Linked DNA regions of Homo sapiens: region 1 is linked to region 2. Evidence: promoter capture Hi-C in human tissues and cell types (Jung and others, 2019). All regions are on one chromosome and are shown on one strand. Each heading gives the region's core, a stretch centred on a gene start or on the middle of the fragment in contact. The rest is flanking DNA. Distances are from core to core; before and after follow the strand shown.

Region 1 (5,936 bases), core at 2,894-5,393, 51 kb before region 2:
TCAAGAGGGAGGAGACAGTTTCGGATGGCCTCCATTTAAGGTCAATTTTTAGAATCCTTATCTCCTGCTTCAAGACTGAGCACTCTCCAGAAGGTTTGACTATGAGAACATCTCTCCTCTTCAAGGGAAACCCCATACCCACCCACAGAGGTATTGTTGCTCCCTCCCACACAGATAGAACAAGTCACATCCAATATTTTGTGTCATTTCATGTTAAGTAAAGCCACAAATGAGGCAATGACATCCCAGTCCAGGTAAGGCTGGGCTGCCCTCAGAGCATTTTATTTTCAATCTGTTCTTATCATAGGTTGAAAAATCTTAGGGTCTGGTCTCAGGATCAACTTGCATGACCCATATTGCTGGTGGTGCCCCAATATTCATTATCCTCTTCTTCTTTGTAATAGAAACCCTGATTTCTAACTGGATCCATGCCACCTGGATCAAAGACTATATTTCCCAGCCTTCTTTGCAGCTGGGAAAAGTCATATGACTAAGTTCTGGCTCATGGGAAATGTATAATTATGCAGTCTGTACTTGCACATACTTAAAGGAAAGAAGCATTTCTTTTCCCAGCTGGCTGGAAGGTAGAAATGCACCGTCTTGGACAGGGTGAATGAATGCAATGCCTAAGACAGCAGAACAACAATATAGGAAAAGCCTGAGATTTCTGAAATCATGGAACCTTCATTCCAGCCCTGGACAACTTACTTCTAGACTACTAAATGAGAGCAAAATAAAATTCAGTATTATTTAACCATTATTACTTGGGGGTTTCTGTTTTAGCAACCAAACTTGTATTCTAAATCATATAGTTTATCATTGTGTAAGACACATGGAACATAGTAGGTGCTCACTAAATTGTAGCTGTTGTTCATTTCTAGAGTTCTCCACCTAACAGTGGGAATGAAATTGTAGGCACTTATGGACTGTTCTTGCAGGGATAACCTTTACAAGAGGTGCCTTAATGGAGATGAAGCAATTTTGGATTAAGATAGATCTTTATGGAAAAAAATAAATGAAAATGACAGTAATACATTTGGTAAATCTGTGCAGATGCACAAGACATATTTTATGATGTAATGGGGATTTAAATGTGAATTTCAGCTCCAGAAAAAGGAAAGCATTGATTCTTTTGAAGGGGACTGGGGCTAGAAGAGAGGAAACTGTGACTCTCTGGAGACTTTCTAACCTGACGATAGCCAGCATCTTTTCTGCTGTATCTGATGTCATAGCCAAGGGCATGCCCTATTATTCTCCAGTGATTATAAGCTATAAAGCTATGTTTTGTCTCACCTTTGTTTATCAGCCTGGGCAATGGGCATGGTGAGAGCCTAGGTTTATCTTACAGGCCTATTGCTCCTTAGAGAAGAAAAGAGGAAGAGAAGTAAGGAGGAGTTTCAGATTCTTATTGGTTTAGCCAAGCACACAAAGATGGTATCAAGCCTCCAGAACAGCTGAGCCATCACCCCAGACCACAGCCATTGAGAGCACAATTGGCACCCTCAACTTCCAATAGAACTCTTGTATTCTAGGCAAAGCTTCTTAAGTACTACCCAGAATCCACTTCAATAGAGAATGTGAAGTTCAGCTACCCAGCAACATCCATCATTGATCTGCCCTGTGAGAAATCAGGTGGAAACCGTACACTGGACTTAGCAGAAAAAATAGATGCATGCACAGGTTTTGGATTCAGGAAGACCTGAGTTCGGATCTGAACTCTGAAACTTTCTTGCCAGGTGTGTGAACTCTGACAACTAAATTTAGCTGTTTGGAGGCCCAGTTCCTTCATTTATGATACGGGATTAACATATATTTTTATATCATAGTTGTAAGTTTTTATTATTAACCACCACCCTGGTTTGAAAGAGTCAAGACTTGAGATGAATTGGCCAGCTCATTGAAAATAAATTTGCAAGCTTGATAGAGGATGTGAAGTTCAACTATCCAGCAAAATTCATCATTGATCTGCCCTGTGAGAAATCAGATGGGAATGGTGCACTGGACCGAGCAGGAAAAAAAAAATGGTTTTGAGCCCTGACCCTATTGCTAACTTAATGTTTGATGTTAACTGTGTCCTTCCCATCCTCTGGACCTCTATTTCCTCATCTCTAAAATCCCTTCTGTGATCTCTGTTGTTCCAGCAAAATCTGGGCACCAATGTGATGACTCAGCCAAGGTCCCAGAGTGAATCAGCAAAGGCCAAGGAAGGACCAGTATCCCAATCTGGAGCTTTTTCCAGAGCTTTAAACAATGCCCTGCAAAAACCAGCTTAGCACTCATTTCATGCTGGGCATGATGGAATGTGCTGTGGTGGAGAGATGATGGTATGGAGATAAAACAAACAAACAACAACAACAACAAAACAAGGTCGCTGTGTGTGGTGGCTCACGTCTGTAATCCCAGCACTTTGGGAGGCTGAGGTAGGCAGATCACAAGGTCAGGAGTTCGAGACTAGCCTGACCAATGTGGTGAAATCCTGTCTCTACTAAAAATACAAAAATTAGCCAGGCATGGTGGCGCACACCTGTAATCCCAGCTACTCAGGAGGCCAAGGCAGAAGAATTGCTTGAACTCGGGAGGTGGAGGTTGCAGTGAGCCAAGATCACGCCACTGCACTCCAGTCTGGGCAACAGAGTGAGACTCTGTCTCAAAAACAAACAAACAAACAAACAAACAAAAAATGAAACAATGTCCCTGCCCATGAAGGGCTTACAATTGAGCTGATGAAACACAAACAGAAACCACATCATTTACCAGTTTCCCCAAAATCCTCTTCCTGCACATCTCATCACTCCATTTGTAGAAAGAAGCCCTATGAGCTCAGAACAGGCCTGTGGTTGAGCAGCTTCCACTCTGCCTCTCTGCTGATTCCTGCAGCTCTGCTCTTTCTCCTACTCTGGGCCTTGCACGTGCTGTTCCTACCACCCTCTTCTAATCTGCTTGCTTGGCTCATTCCTTTCAGAACTTAGTTCAGATCTCCCCACCTCCAGGAAGTCTTCCTTGATTCCCCAGAGTTGGGGTAGGTACTGCTTTTCAGTGCTCCCAGGGCCCCAGGATGCTCCTAGTGTAGCCCTTACTGGGAAGTGTTGTAGTTACTTGGTTTCTAATCCGTCTTCCACTCTGCACTGAAATTCCATGAGAAGAAAGAAGTTCAGTACCTGGGACATAGTTGGAGCTTCTTAAAATTGTTTATTCGCTACATTGCAGGGTTAAGCTTTGAAGAATGGGTAGGAATCAAATGGGAAGGGGGAAATGAACAGCATCCTTTAGGCATTGGGATGGAAACACATGCTTAAGTGTATGTGTGGGGTGGGGGTAACAAGTGACAGGGAATGTACAGTGTGGGGGCCGGAGCCATCTTTGGCTGAGCAGACCTTCTAGCCCACTGGCTTGATCTTAGTCCCCAGGGGTCTTCAGATTCTCCATGAGATGCACAATGGAGAAGCCTCCATCCCTGCCACATTTCCCTCAAGCATTTCCCAAGATTTGTTCTGGGTACTCACCTGTCCAGCAGCTGCTATTAGTGTTCAGACATTCTTGGGGGTCCATCTTCTAGGACAGGAGTCAGCGAACTTTTCTGCAATAGGACAGAGAGTAAATATTTTCAGGTTTGTAGGCCATGCAATTTCTGTAGTGAGTATGCCAATCTTATTAAAGCATGAAAGCAACTATAGACAATGTACAGACAAATGGGTGTGGCTATATTTCACTATAACTTTATTTACACAAACAGGCAGTGGGCCCTTTTCCACTATGCCTGAGTTTATACTAATGAGATGATTCAGAGTGGAGCCCCTAGATAGCTTCAGAATGGGGGCTGGGCACCAAAAAGACTACATGTGATTGTGTTGGGGGAGACTTTCATCCCTACTCACTGATGTCTGGGGGTGGGGAGGGGGACTGAAGATTGAGTTATAAAAACTCTTAATCAGTGAGATTCAGGGAACCTCTGGGTTGGTGGACACATTGATGTGCTGAGAGGGTGGTGCACTTGGGGAAGGCAGGCAAGCTCTATGCCACCCCATCATTCCCATACCTTGCCCTGTGCAATCTTTCATTTGCTTATTCCTGATACGTACCCTTTATAATAAACCAGCAAATGTAAATAAAGTGCCCTTCTGAGTTCTGTGTCATTCTAATGATTATTGAACCTGATGGAAGGTTGTGGGAACCCCTGAATTTGTAGTTGTCTGGGCAGCAGTGTAGGTAACTTGGACACCCGATTTGTGGCTGGTGTCTGCACTGGGGGCAGTCTTGAGGAACTAAGCTCTTGAGCTGTGGGGTCTGCACTAATTCTGAATAGTTAATAGTTAGTCAAAATAGAATTGAATTGTTAGACACCGAGTTGGTGTCAGAGAATTGGTTGGGTTGGAAAAAAAAAAACAAAAAACATGTGATGCCTTTGTAGGCCAGAATTTACCAACCTCTGCTTTATGGAAATGGTAGCATCATCTGAGAACAGGCAGCCCCTTCCCAAAGCCTCCAAATGTGCAGGAGTGGTTGCGGGCTTCTAGCTCATTCATGTTTGACAATTATTGAGCATCTACTATGTGGCAGGCACTGTGCAACCTGCTGGGCGTGTCATGGTAATCAAGATAGAAGAGATTCCTGTCCAGATGAAAGGCAAATTCTAGCAAACAAGGCCCGCAATAAGAAAATAAGAAAACAAAAGAACATTTCAGATCGTGATGGATTCCAGGAAGGGCATTTGTAGGGGATGTGATAGCACATAGTGTGTGCATGTGGGTGGGTTTGGGGATGCTGCTGTAGATACCTGTATTAATCTGTTTTCACACTGCTGATAAAGACATACCTAAGACTGGGCAATTTACAAAAGAAAGAGGTTTAATTGACTTACAGTTTCACATGTCTGGGGAGGCCTCACGATCATGGTGGAAGGCAAGGAGGAGCAAGTCACATCTTATATGGATGATGACAGGCAAAGAGAGCTTGTGCAGGGAAACTCCTATTTTTAAAACCATCAGATCTCATGAGACTTATTTACTATCACAAGATCAGCATGGGAAAAACCTGCCCCCATGATTCGATTACCTCCCACCGGGGCCCTCCCACAACACGTAGGAATTCAGGATGAGATTTGGATGGGGACACAGCCAAACTATATCAACACCTATGGGCAGGGAAGATGGTCTGTGAAGTTGACATTGAACGGAACCTCGAATAATGAGAAGGAGTGGGCCATAGGAGGAGCAGGAGGAAGAGAATTCTTGGAAGATGGAACAGCATATGCAAGATCACCCAAACTGGTAATAACCTGGCAGGTTCTAGGAGCTGAAAAGAGACCAGTGTGGGTGGAGTAAGTTTGTGAAATTTGTCTTTGGTTGAATGAGAGGACTCTCTACTCCATTGGCAGGACACAGCTATTTCCTTTAACAAGAAGGCATTGTGGGTGTATCTGTCATTTTCCCCTTTGGATTACATGAGAAAAATTATGATTGCTAATATTTGTTGGCTACTGTGCCATGTTAAGTGCTTTATTTTAATGATGTCTTTAAAGCCCAACAACAACTTTATGAAATATGGGCTATTATTTTTATTTCCATTTTGTAGTAGGGGAAACTAAGGCACAGAAGAATTTAATTAACTTGCCCCAAACACAGTTAGGCAGATCTGGGATTTGAACTGGCAGATTTGGGATTTGAACCCAGGAGTACAGATGACTATGCTCTCAGCTGCTAAACTATTCAACTATTTTCTTTGATTATGTTTCCCTCAGCCTCTTTGGGGGTAATGTATTTTCTCAAGTTCCCTGAAGTTGAGAGTCTGAGGAGGTTATACTAATAGTGGTAATACCTATTTCACTGACTGGCATCTCATCTGTGTAATGAAGGTCTTTGGGCTCTCCCTGCACTAGGCAAATTCTCACCCATAGAGTTTCACATAAACTCCCAGATAGTCCTCTCAGAGTGTGTATA
Region 2 (6,558 bases), core at 986-3,485:
TCATGACCTTTGTCATACATGTGTTTGCCTGTCCTATTATTGACTTAAAATGTTTCTTTCAATGATTATCTTTTAAGAATTAGTTTCATCTTAAAGAATAATATCTGTGATAACATAGATATCATGTGCTAGTTATATTTTTTAGATGTGCATAAAAAATAAACATACAGCCATTAAAAACTTGTTAAGAGTTTGCCAGGCACCCCCAGAACCATCTTGGAATATATACACCTCATTTGGGGAAAGAAAGCCTTAAACGATTGTTAGAGGATTAAATGTGATAATATGTGTAAAATGCCAAGCACAGCACCAGGGTCAAGCTAATTGTCTTCTCTAGTTCTATTTTGTTGAATGCTGTAGATGCCTGAAGAAGGAGCTAAGTGCACACACAGGATCATGTGCTTACAATACACATTAAAGGGGCTTTCTAAAAAAAAGAGATTTTCAAGCTTTGCACATGCTTATAATACACATTAGAAGGGCCTTTCAGAAAAAAAGATTTTCAAACTTTGCTCATGCATGTACTTATTTTAAGACAAGGAATCACTGCATTTGTTATTCTTAGATTGTATTTTTCCACTGGAGGCCTCCAATGAGCTCAGTACCCTCTCCCACCCTCCTCCAGGGGCTGAAATTTGCACTCTAATTCTAAGCCTGAGACTCCTTTCTGCAAGTATCTGAATTGCCCACTTCATAAAGAGATCACTTAATCTAGCCCTTTCAGGAAAAGGAGAAGGCACTTGCCAGCACAAGGTGACTGAGTTATGTATTTCTTGATCTTCTTTAATCTGGGGTCTCTAATCTCCCAAAGATATGGGCATGGGAAATTATGTTAACTGGCTCCCACTGCCCTTTCAGAGGAATTTCTGATTAGGCTCTTTGAGAGATTGTGACTTGATTTCCATTGTTTCTCATTATGTTTCCCTTGACTTCTAGCTCTGAGTTTTTGCTTTAGAACTGCCAATTCCTCTTCCTTACCTGAGCCACCTTCTCTGCACTTCTATCCTCACTTGCTAGGTCTTCCTTGACATCTGAGATGCCAGGTGAGCAGAATACTTACCTCGCTGCACTGCAGATGCCTGGGTCAGAATGCAGGAGACCAAGGCCAGCCACAGGAGGCCAGAGCCCACCATCCTTTCCATAAGGTGAGGCATGCAGGTCACTTTGCTGTATGCAGACTTCCCATGCAGCTATGGGAAAGAAAAGACCAAGATAAGATTAGGGCATAGGTCTATGTTCTTAGAAACAGATCCGTTGACTTCCTTCATAAAGAGCTGCATTGTTTCAAAGTAGGTGTGACTTATGGACAGATAGAGCGAGATAATGGGTGATAAAATTGACAGTAAGCAAACCAAAGGCAAGCTTAGAGCTGGCTAGTACTGCAGAATGTCCTAGAAAGGTCTCAGGATGGTCCCTGCTCAGGTGGAAGTAGAGGCTCTTTGGAGATTGGATAGAGAAAAAGGGATATGGTACCTGTGAATACCTGCACACAAAAGTAATGGCTGCCCTTTCTTAGTTTTATGCATTGGGTGCTGCTAAGAGCCCCCTGAAATGTCCTCTATGGATGTAGATTTCTGTGACTGTGGAACCATGCCAAACCGAGCCTCATGTTCCTTGCTCCTAGTACAGAATCTGGCACACAAGGAGTACTCAGTAGAGGATTAAGGATGAATAAATAAATCAATGGGGGTTGGGGGCGGTGGCGAGGCAGAAAGAAAGAGCTGCAAAAAAGCCTGCCAGCATTTGGATGGCATTTACTTTTCTGGGAAATACTTTCCCTAAATGGCCAAATCTTTGGATAACTTCCTACAACCTCTGGAAGACTTCAGTGGAAAATAGAGATCGGTTTCGGGCAGGGATACCATGAGTATGCTATGAGACAGCAGGGATAGGGAAGCACCCAGGATTGGTGATTCTTAGAGATGAGATCCCAATAGAGACCTAGTTCCCTGGTGGGAATATCTGGGACAAGGAAGAGGGTGGCGTCCGTAGGCCTGGAGCATCGCAGATGACTGGAAGCATGACTGAGTTGGACATAGAGTGGTACCTGGAGCACTTGACAATGGCCAGGGTCCAAACTACTTGCTGGGTTCTAAAAATTTCCAGAAACAAAGAATCCTAGCATGTCCAGTGGATCAAGATTTCCCAGGATTAGGAGGAAGCCTCCTGGGGCTTAAAGCAGGACTTACCTCCGATGAGAACACAAAGCGTTCCTCCTCTGGCCAGCCATGGGAATGCAGCCTGCTGTGGGCCGTCTTTTTATTGCAATTTCCCACCCATGTGTCTCTCCTCAATTGGTGCACAGGTATGATGGGAGTTCTAGGCCATACACTGGGCTTGTTGAGTGGAGGTGAGATAAGCCATTTACGCAAAGGATGGTGAAAGAAGGGCCCTCCCCTCACAATGTCAACCCTTCCAGCTGTCTCAGCATTGTGCGAATGCTTCCTACAAACAATAGTGCTGTGTGCTGAATGCTGAACATGCTGGGCACTGCTTTGCGTTCTTGACTTCTCACATTTAATCTTCATAATTAATCAATGAAACTGGTGCCATATTTATTACCAGAAACCAAACACGAATTGAAAGGAAGCTTAATACCCAAAGGGAAGTGAAGAGAAAATCAAACAGGCACTTGTTTGCACAATGGATTTTCAGTTGTACCTTGTGTTCCTAGCTAATCATCTTGGAACATTTCTGCTTCTGTCTGAAGGCCACTGAGCTTGGGGCCAGTTAGACTAAGAGGACACATAGGAAAGGAAAGAAGGGAGTGTGGATGTTTCGAAAAATTCCATTTATTGGTCCATAGAATCTACCCAACTCCGGATTTCTAATGCTGAGCAGTTTTGGAATGGCTAATTTGGTGATGATGGATTTTGGAATGGCAAAGGACAGACAAAGGTTCTTGGACAAAAGAAGCACCAGAGTAGCCCCTGTAAATCCCTTTTGATATGTAGGCTGCCCTAGAGATTGGAAGGCATGAGACTGAGAAGAGGCTGTAGAGGATCTTGGACTTATTAACTCCAGGCTTGGACCTGGCTTTCATGACATGGTAGAAATCATGGACTTCATAAAAGAGCCAAAGCTTTTGCAGAAAAAATGGCCACTGCTTCTTCTCTGTCACTCTGGGACTCCTTAAGGAGCCAAGGCAACTGGAGTCAAGGGAGCAGGAGGGTCTTGGCATTGGTAACACCTTCTACAAAACCTCAACCTGGAAAAAGAAAAGGTGCTACAAGCCACCTTCTCTACTCCCAGAGCAACTGGAGAATAAATAGTCTCTAAAATGTGGAACTTGTGACAACTGGGCCCACTAAATCACCTACTGATCCATTCAGTCTGGCCAGGTGCCCATCCCAGTCTCCCCAGTGGCCACTCTTAACCTTCCCATTCCTCTTAAATGGTCTCTGCAGCTATTATCACCCACTCACACCACCTTTCTCAGCAGATATCTGGTACCCTACTTCAAAAACAATTTAGGCCACAACACCTGACCTTGCTCCTTCCCCTGTAAACATATAAATACTGGTCTCCATCCTCCACCCCTTCCCCCTCCAACTTCTGATAAGGCGATGTTCCTCCTTTTCAAAGTCAGTTCCTCCATCCCTCTTCTGGCTTCTCCATTCCAATCTGAACCATGTAGCTACAACTTTATAGCCAAATCCACTGGGTAGTTTGTTTCTGCTCCTTTGTGATTGGATTTGCCTACTGCTTGTTCCGGGTACCTTGCATTTCCTTGACTCCGCATGTTCATATTTTCTTGATTCTCCTGTTTCTACCTGGAGATTTCTGCTCTGTTGCTACAAGATCCTGTCTCTAAGAATGCTGGTTAGGTCCCATTTTTCTTTTCACGTCATAAACTCTCCCTGGGAGGTATCAAGTTATCTCATGGTTTCACATACCATCTCCAGGCTGGTGAGTTCTGAATCCGTATCCCCAGCTTTCGCTACTCCCTTGAACTTCAGTTCCATCTACCTATTGATTGCTGGACCTCTCACTGCCGCTGAGATGCTTGAGACACCTCAAACTCAGCAAGTGCAACTCTGAGCTCATCAAGTCACCTAAATCTTCTCCTCCTCATTGTATGATCTATTTTAATCAAAGGTGCCACTTGCCTCCCAGTCATCCAAGCTGGAAACTTGGCCTCTTCCTTTCTAAGCTCCTTCCTTTCTCCCTCTGCTCCCATTTCCAATAATCCTTTCTTCTCCATCTCCACCTCACCAATCCAAATTCGGGCCACCATTCCTTATGAAGGTAATTTTTTTTTTTTAGCAAGAGTCTTGCTCTGTTGCCCAGGCTACAGTGCAGTCACGTGATCATAGGCTCACTGCAGCCTTGATCTCCTGGGCTCAAATAATCCTCCCACCTCAGCCTCCTGAATAGCTGGGACTACAGTTGTAGGCCACCACATCTGGCTAATTTTTAAACTGTTTTGTAGAGGCAGCATCTTGCTATGTTGCCCAGGCTGGTCTTAAACATTTTGGCTTAAATTATCTTCCTGCCTTGCCCCCACAAAGTGCCAGGATTACAGACCTGAGCCTCTGCGCCCTGTCCAGAGTCATTTTAATAGCTGCCCAACAGGTCTCCCTGCTTTCATTCTTATTTTTGTTTGTTTTCTCCCCTGCAGCCAGAGGCCAGTGTACCATCTGTCAGCATTATCTCCCATTCCCAGCACTTTATGCTCCCTGGGATCTGACCCCTCTTTACAGTTCCAACCTCACCTATGACTTCTCCACCACACATTGCATGCTCCAGCCAATCTGTGGTTGTCTGGCCTCTTCCTCATCTTCAAGCCTTTGCATACGCTATTCCCTCAGCCTGCATCACTCTTCACCCAGCCTCCTCCTACGTTATCACCTCTTCCAGGAAGCTTTTCCTTTTTCTTTTTTTTGAGGTGGAGTTTTGCTCTTGTCACCCAGGCTGGGTGCAATGGCATGATCTTGGCTCACTGCAACCTCTGCCTCCTGGGTTCAAGTGTTTCTCCTGCCTCAGCCTCCCGAGTAGCTGAGATTACAGGCACCCGCCACCACGCCCAGCTAATTTTTGTATTTTAGTAGAGACAGCGTTTCACCATGTTGGCCAGGATGGTCTCAAACCCCTGATCTCAGGTAATCCACCTGCCTCAGCCTCCCAAAGTGCTGGGGTTACAGGCGTGAGCCACTGTGCCCGGCCCAGGAAGCCTTTCCTAACTCCACAGGTACTCCTCTTCTCTGCTCCTAGGCCTCTCAGGGCTGCTTCCAATTACACTCACCTGCCAACTTATCTGTCTCCCTCTGAAGGCTGTTAAGACCTTTGTGGACAGAGGCCAGGTGTGGTGGCTCATGCCTGTAATTCCAGCACTTTGGGAGGCACTTTGGGAGGCCAAGGTGGGCGGATGACTTGAGGTCAGGAGTTTGAGGCCAGCCTCGGCAACATGGCGAAACACCATCTCTACTAAAAATACAAAAATTATCCGGGCATAGTGGTGCATGCCTACAGTCCCAGCTACTCGGGAGGCTGAGGCAGAAGAATCGCTTGAACACAGGAGGTGGAGGTTGTAGTGAGCCGAGATCACACCATTGCACTCTAGCCTGGGCAACAGAGCGAGACTCTGTCCCCGCCCAAAAAAAAAAAGATGTTTGTGGACAGGAAGCCTGTCTCTGCAGTCCTCATCAGTACCTAGTAAGTACTTCTTGAGTAAACACATGGACAAATTCATAAAATGCATCCCTAGACCCTCTGCAGTGAGCAATTCTTCAAACTTTTGGCTGTCCAAGTGTAGGCAGTCAGCCTTGCAGGAAAGACACAAGATCCTACCTCAGGACTTTGCACCTGCTATTCTGACTGCCTGCAATGCTATTCTTCAGATATGCCCCTGGTTCACTCTTTTACTTCTTTTAGCCTCTGCTTAGCAGAGGGACTTTCTCTGATCATTTTATGTCAAATAACACCCACATTTCTCTATCCCTCATCCTTGTTTTTTCATCCCCCTCAGAACTTGTCGCCATCTATCACATTGCACATAGTTGTTGTTTAAATGTATCTGCCTTTTAAATGTAAGCTCTCTACCAGCAAGGGCTCTCTTTTGGTTATTTGCTGTTTCCATGGTACATGTAAAATTGCCTGGTATTGAATTTATGCCCCAAATATCTGTTGAAAATACTGAGCTGAATAATCGATAGAAAACAAGAAAGGCAAAGAAAAAGAACCGAGGGACTGCAGGAGTAATTCTGTTGTGCTTTTTTTTTTTATCCCAGCTCTTGTCTTTGGTCCTTATCTTTACTGATCTTGGCCCAGATTTTTCCTTTATGTTCTATTGTATTGGAGTGCAAGCACAGATGGATGTGTACGCCATCAGCCACAGACTGACCATGGCCTGACAGTGGACAGGGGCTGGGATCAGCCCATAGTCTTCCTCCACAAAGCTCTTATGTCAATGTTTTCTGTGCATGTCTGTGTGATAAGAGGCCCTTGACTTAAGACACACTGTCCTAGCAGCCCCCATTTGCTGATACACATGTGTGGATTTCCCTGGGATCAGAAAGTTCTAATAATGTACTAAGGAGGGCCTTGGCCTCTCCTGAA

What was found. The method cuts DNA at HindIII sites, captures the fragments that hold promoters and counts their contacts. A contact is called where the count stands out against the background at its distance.
Region 1: a fragment that was not itself captured here is called in contact with the fragment with the promoter of GP2 in region 2 in 2 of the 25 tissues and cell types used here (dorsolateral prefrontal cortex and pancreas).

Annotation. Positions count from the first base shown.
Region 1 is chr16:20,272,829-20,278,764 of GRCh38, forward strand. No RefSeq gene overlaps it. Among named protein-coding and RNA genes, the nearest start is that of GP2, 52 kb to the right of the region's middle. The HindIII fragment of the contact is 4,833 bases long and covers 1,728-5,936 here.
Region 2 is chr16:20,325,278-20,331,835 of GRCh38, forward strand. GP2 (glycoprotein 2) reads right to left here and starts at 2,236. Exons shown (of 11, transcript NM_001502.4): 1 at 2,190-2,236; 2 at 1,061-1,190. The coding sequence starts at 1,154. The HindIII fragment of the contact is 1,931 bases long and covers 906-2,836 here.